Regions from separate parts of the Homo sapiens genome. Here region 2 is linked to region 1. The links are contacts of gene promoters, found by promoter capture Hi-C in human tissues and cell types (Jung and others, 2019). All regions are on one chromosome and are shown on one strand. The core of a region is centred on a gene start or on the middle of the fragment in contact, and the rest is flanking DNA. Distances in the headings are between cores, read along the strand shown. Region 1 holds the start of EIF3D (eukaryotic translation initiation factor 3 subunit D). Region 2 holds the start of TMPRSS6 (transmembrane serine protease 6).

The links. The method cuts DNA at HindIII sites, captures the fragments that hold promoters and counts their contacts. A contact is called where the count stands out against the background at its distance.
Region 2: a contact is called between the fragment with the promoter of TMPRSS6 here and the fragment with the promoter of EIF3D in region 1, in 2 of the 25 tissues and cell types used here (mesenchymal stem cells and mesendoderm cells).

Annotation. Positions count from the first base shown.
Region 1 is chr22:36,527,537-36,530,763 of GRCh38, reverse strand. EIF3D (eukaryotic translation initiation factor 3 subunit D) reads left to right here and starts at 1,598. Exons shown (of 15, transcript NM_003753.4): 1 at 1,598-1,688. RefSeq lists enhancers at 1,328-1,727, 2,038-2,087. The HindIII fragment of the contact is 12,569 bases long and covers 1-3,227 here.
Region 2 is chr22:37,108,188-37,111,414 of GRCh38, reverse strand. TMPRSS6 (transmembrane serine protease 6) reads left to right here and starts at 1,702. Exons shown (of 18, transcript NM_001374504.1): 1 at 1,702-1,912. RefSeq lists an enhancer at 2,971-3,227. The HindIII fragment of the contact is 35,568 bases long and covers 1-3,227 here.

The sequences.
Region 1 (3,227 bases), core at 349-2,848:
TGAGTCGTCACTTCAGAATCACAGCTAATGCGGAGCTCTTGGGCTCCAGCATAAACATATCCGTATAATCTATCAAAATGAGACCCAGAATCTGAATTTTTAAAAATACTATCCTGGTCAGGTGTGGTGGCTCACGCCCGTAATCCCAGCACTTTGGGAGACCGAGACAGGAGGACTGCTTGAGCCCAGGAGTTTGAGACTAGCCTTGGCAACATGATGAGACTTCGTCTCCACAGAAGTTTTTTTTTTTTTTTTTAATTAGCCAGGCAGCCGGACGCAGTGGCTCACGCCTGTAATCCTAGCACTTTGGGAGGCCGAGGTGGGTAGATCACCTGAGGTCAGGAGTTCGAGACCAGCCTGGTCAGCAAGGTGAAACCCCGTCTCTACTAAAAGGAAAATTAGCCGGGCATGTTGGTACACGCCTGCAATCCCAGCTACTCGGGAGACTGAAGCAGGAGAATCACCTGAACCTGGGATGCGGAGGTTGCAGTGAACTGAGATAGCGCCACTGCACTCCACTCCAGCCTGGAAGACAGAGCAAGACTCCGTCTAAAAAAAAAAATTAGCCAGGCATGGTGGCATGCACCTGTAGCCTCAGCTGCTCCGCACGCTGAGGCGAGAGGACCACTTTAGACCAGGAGTTAAAGACCAGCCCGGGCAACATAGTGAGACGCTGTCTCTACAAAATTTTTAAAAATCATTAGCTGGCCGGGTACGGTGACTCATGCCTGTAACCCTAGCCCCAGTGGGTGGACTGTTGAGCTCAGGAGTTTGAGACCAGCCTGAGCAACATAGCAAAACCCCATCTCTACCAAAAATACAAAAATTAGGCAGGCGTGGTTGTGCGTGCCTGTGTACACCAACGACTCGGGAGGCTGAACTGGGAGGATCGCTTGTACCTGAGAAGTCGAGGGTGCAATAAGCCGTGATCCTGCCACTACATTTCAGCCTGGGCGACAGAGCGAAACCCTGTCTCAAAAAATAAATAAAAATAAATAAAAACACTGTTCCAGAAATCCCTGTCCTACAATTAAGTTTGAGAACTGCGGAAGTATGGTTTGAACTCTGGCGGTTAGAACCCTAAACTAACAGTCTGATCTAGGCAGGTCACTTGGCACTTCTGAGCCTCAGTTTCCACAACTATAAAGGCGGAGGAGTAACAATAAGGACCGCCTAAGACACCGACGGACCTCCCCTGCGCTGAGTTTCACATTAAGCAGGCAGGTAGAACAGGCGGGGAGTCGCGGGTGACGGTGGGATACATGGGGGCTGAGGCGCGCCGCGAAGCATTGTGGGACACAGAAGGGCGCCAGTCGCTCCCCGCCTCGAGCTTCGATTGCGCGGCCGCCAAGTTTCAGTGATGAACGCCCTCTTTGGGCGTCCCCGGATACCGCCTGACGTAGTGCCAATCACACCTCTCGCGTCTCGGCGCCTCGGAGGCTAATGAGGACGCCTGGCGAAACGCAGTAACGGATTTCCGGGTGGACCTTCGCTTTACGGCTCGTGAGTTCTTCCGCCCAACCCAGAGGAAGCGGGAGAGCAGTTTACGACAGCGCCGGTCGTGTTTACGGCGGCGCCCGCTGCGCGCGCATGTTTCCTCTTTTCCTGGTTTCTCAAGAGTGCTGCTGCTAACGCGGTCCCCGGCACGCACCATCTGTTGCCATCCCGGCCGGCCGAGGCCATTGCAGGTGAGCGGCGTGTTTCATAGGTTCCTGCGGCCCTCCGGAGCCGGTTCGGACTAGGTCCAGCCTTCGGGGGGCCTCCCGGAAGAGACCTCTCTTAGTCCCTTCCTGCTGTTGCCGTCCCTCCGCTGGGCGGGGCAGGAATCCACTTTCGGGGGCCCCGCGTCCCGCACGCTACTGAACGCGGGACACGACCTTGTGGGTGAGGTCCTTGGCCCTCGGCCCTGCTCAGTGCCCATGAGCTGGGTGAATTTGATTGTCACTTAACTCACCTGGGTTAAGACGGAGGGGTAACAACAAAGTCTTTCTGAAGTGGCCGAAAACTCCCTGACTTTTTGAGTGAGGTCTTAGGGGTACCAGGCTGAGCGGTGTTTGGCCCCTGTTCTTAGGAATTCACAGTGCATAGGTTATCTTTCCTTTTTTGTGAAACTGGAGGCTAGGATAGAGAAGTAGATTTGATCTCTGATCTTAAATCTACCCCACCCCCTGTTCAGCGATGGACGGCTTATGATCTGTAGTGGCCTGCCAACCACAGAGCCCCTTCTGAGTGCCCTCTTGGAACCTCCCTATCCTGCCCCTGTGACTAGTACAGCTGTTACTTCGTTTTTGCTGAGCGGCTCAGTTTCTCCTCCTGGTTCCGCTCTGCTCTTAAAAAAAAAAACATTTATTAAAGCCAGGGTATCTCATCCCTGGCTTTCCAGGGAGGTGATGCAGGTCGAGCCTCGGGCCTCTTCCCTTCTTGAGCTTCTGACAGAACCCGATTTTTTAAAGTGTGTTTTGAGACTCGTTGTCTTGGTATTATGATGTACGGTCTCAAACCCCTGATCTTTGCGGGCTGCTGCCCAGCTGTAATATAATGGAAAGAAGGCTGGACTGACAGCAGGCAACCCTGGAAATCAAATCTGTTTTGAAATGATGAGGTCAGCTGCTTGAGTAGGCTGAGCTTCAAATTTTTGCCTCTAAAGTAGGGGTGGGGGGGTGGTCAATGGTGTTAAATTATCTGGTATAGGGCCTAACACGTAGGAGCTCAGCAATATTTATTTAATACAAATTGTTCTGAGACCACCACCCTTTTTCTTCTGTCCTCTTCCTATAGTTTCTATTAGAAAGATGAAACTTCTAGGTTCATCCTGTGTTGCTGTCACCCAAATGTCATCTCTGAAGGAAGCCTCAATCTCCCCAGCATGGGGCTTTGAGGAGAGTTTACTAAGTTCAGCATACCTGTTCTTTTGATTGCTCTCCAGCCTCCAAGAAACATTTGATTTTTGTTTTTTTGAGACGGAGTCTTGCTCTGTTGCCCAGGCTGGAGTGTAATGGCAGGATCTTGGCTCACTGCAACCTCCGCCTCCTGAGTAGCTGGTATTACAGGTGCCCGCCACCACGCCCAGCTAATTTTTGTATTTTTAGTAGAGACTGGGTTTCACCATGTTGACCAGGCTGGTCTCGAACTGCTGACCTCGTGATCCGCCCACCTCGGCCTCTCAAAGTGCTGGGATTACAGGCGTGAGCCACCGCGCCCGGCCTCCAAGAAATACTTGTGTAGTG
Region 2 (3,227 bases), core at 453-2,952, 580 kb before region 1:
TGAGCATGCACACACACACACACACAGCTGCACACACCTCTCATGCTCCATACACACCTCACACCATACGTACCTCAAAGACACACACACCTTACACTGCACATTCCCAGCACCCACACTGCACACACATGCACAGTCCATATGCCCACACAACACACTTCACACACCCCCCACCCCACACCATACAAACCTCACAGACACACCTCTCACACAAATCTTATACCCCACACACAATCCCTACGCTCCACACACACACACACACACACACACGCACATTCTACACATACATAATCTACACACACAAATTCCAGACTGTCTCTCTTACACACACACTCTGGGACCCATATGCCCACAGCACACAGCATCTCAGGCGTGCACCCCGCATTCTGGCCTCAGGATGTAGACTCGCTGAAAGTCAGCCTTGTCTGAGACAGACGCCCGCTGCCCTGCACGCACCCTAGAAAGCCCTGGCTCCCATCCGGCACTTCGGCACGCATATGGCTCAAACCCATCTCCACAGCAACGCTGTTCCATAGAACAACAACGCAGGTCACACTTGTGACTTAACCTGTCTAATATCCACATGCAACAAGGGGTGTGGTGGCCCGCGCCTGTAATCCCAGCTACTTGGGAGGCTGAAGCAGGAGGATCATGTGGGCCCAGGAGCTCCAGACCAGCCTGGCAACCTAATGAGACCCTGTCTCTGAAAAAAAAAAAAACAAGAGAGCCAGAAGAAAATTGCTTTTAATAATACATTTTATTTATCCCATGATCACCAGTGTTATTTCAACATAAAATCAATATAAAAATTGTTATCGCGTTGGTTGACATCCTGTTTGCACTTGGCCTTGGAAACCTGGTGTGCGTCTCCCCCGTGCAGCTTTTCTCAGTTCAGACTGACTCAAGAGCCACGGGTGACCAGCGGCTACCGTCATGGACAGCACAGCGCTACGGAACCAGGTAGGAATTCATGCTGCGTGCGGTCGCTCATGCCTGTAATCCTAGCGTTTTGGGAGGTCGAGGTGGGTGGAATCACTTGAGGTCAGGAGTTCGAGACCAGCCTGGCTAACATGGTGAAACCCCATCTCTTCTAAAATTATGAAAATTAGCCGGGCATGGTGGTGGGCGCTGTAATCCCAGCTACCTGGGAGGCTGAGGCAGGAGAATTGCTTGAACCCGGGAGGCGGAGGTTGCAGTGAGCCGAAATCACACCACTGCACTCTAGCCTGGGTGACGGAGTGAGACTCCATCTTAAAAAAAAAAAAAAAAAAAAAAAAGAACGAGGTAGGAATTCAAATAATTCCCAGCTAAACAGAAAATAGCATCAAACCCCACCCCTGCCTCCCCTTTCTCCTCTCCAGTCCCCAGAGTATATGGGCCCAGCCTCCTTTTCTCTCTCTCAGGCCAGCAGCTCCTTTAGTCTCGCCTGTCCAGGTAAGCACCTGGACTCACCCTTGTGAGCCCCTGCACTCACCTGCACCGGCCTCTGCACAGTCCCCAGTCCTTGGCTGTCCCTACCTCATGCTCTCGGGGACCAGGGGCTGTAACCAGGCAGGCATGTCACCAGGCAACGGGCCTCGGGGGAGAGCTCAGATCTCCCGCACCTGCCTGCCAGCCTCTGGGGTGCCCATGCGGGGGTGGGGGAAGATGGGGCGGGGCAGGCACTGCCTTCTCCTACCTCCTGCCTGTTTACCTGTACTTAGTCACAGTGCTGTCCAGGACCCAGCAGGAGGAGTTCCATGGAGCCTGAGGCCACAGGCCACAGGGGACAAGGGCCAGACACCCTGGTCATGGCTCTAGGCCATTGATCCAGCCTGGGCTGGCTGGGTGGGGGTGGGGAGGCCTTGGCCTGGACAAACAGAGGCTCCTGAGGCCTGTGTGCAGGCCCGGCACCTATCTGCCGCTCCCAAAGGTAAGCGGGGGCCTCCAGGACAGGGGACCGGGATCTATAAATGACCTAGTGACAGTGTCCACCCTAAGAGCTGGGCCTGGCTCCCTGCAGCCTGAGCCACCTACCCTGCTCCGAGGCCAGGCCTGCAGGGCCTCATCGGCCAGAGGGTGATCAGTGAGCAGAAGGTGAGGGGCCCACAGAGCTGGGGAGGGGAGGGACCACGCAGGGTGACACCAGGTGTGTGGACAGGCACAGCATCAGTGCTGGGTGGTTGGTGGCCTGGGATTCAGGTGGCAGGGACAGGAGGAAGGGAGAGGCCACCCTACCCCTGCCTCGCAGGACTGGACATGCTGCCCCCTCCACACCCGGTACCCCACCTGGGCCTTCTGGTGTAGGAGACAGGCCCGGAGCCCCACATTGCACCTATGTACTGACTTAAGCCCAGGACCCTGGGCTCACAGGCTCAGAGTTGGCATGTATGTGTATGTGTGTTCGTGTGTGTGTCTGTGTAGGAAGGGCGTGCATCTATGAATTTTTGTGTCATGAATAGATGTGCGTATATCCCTCCGCGTGTCTCCATCTGTGTACATCTGTGGGTCTGTGAGTGTGTTTATATGTGTGGAAGGGACCCCCACCCAGTCCCCCACACTCTCAGGACTCTAGGGCCTAATGGTTTCACTGAAAGATGCCCCTATGGCCCTAGCCCAGAGTCCCTGCTCTGCTCTGCTCTGCCCTGGCTGAGGGACCTCGGGTAAGTCATGTTACCTCTCTCTACCTCAGTTTCCCCAGCCATTAAATAGAGTCAGCAAAGTAGGCACCCCAGGCTGTTGGAGGCTGCAGTGGAGTTTGCAGCACTGCCCAGCACAGGGCTGGCACATGGTAGGAGTTCATACGCAGTGGTTGAATCCGGATCTGCATTGCTGGGGGAGTCGCGGCCCCGCCCCAAGGAGCTCAGCCTCCAGCAGGCAGACCCGAGACCCTCCAATGGCCAGAAGGGCAGGAGGGAGTGAGGAGCAGGTGCCAGGGTGGGGTCCATGGTGCTCAGAGCTGGGGGACTGCTTCAGGCCCCTGTGGCAATTGGAGCACAGTCCCCGCTTCCAGGAGTTCAATGTGAGGGGCAAAGAGAGAGTGCCCACAGGTAAGCTGCACATCGCGAGGGGCAGCCGCCCCTTCTAGGGCACTCTGGGAGAGCTGCGAAGAGGTGAGGTCTGAACTGAGGTGACAGGGGCTGCATAAGAGCTGGCCAGGTTGGGAGGTGGGGGCCCAGGCAGAAGGAAGAGTGTGGGGACGCCTGGCCGTGAACAAGCACTGACAGGGCTCAAGGTCCACGAGGGCT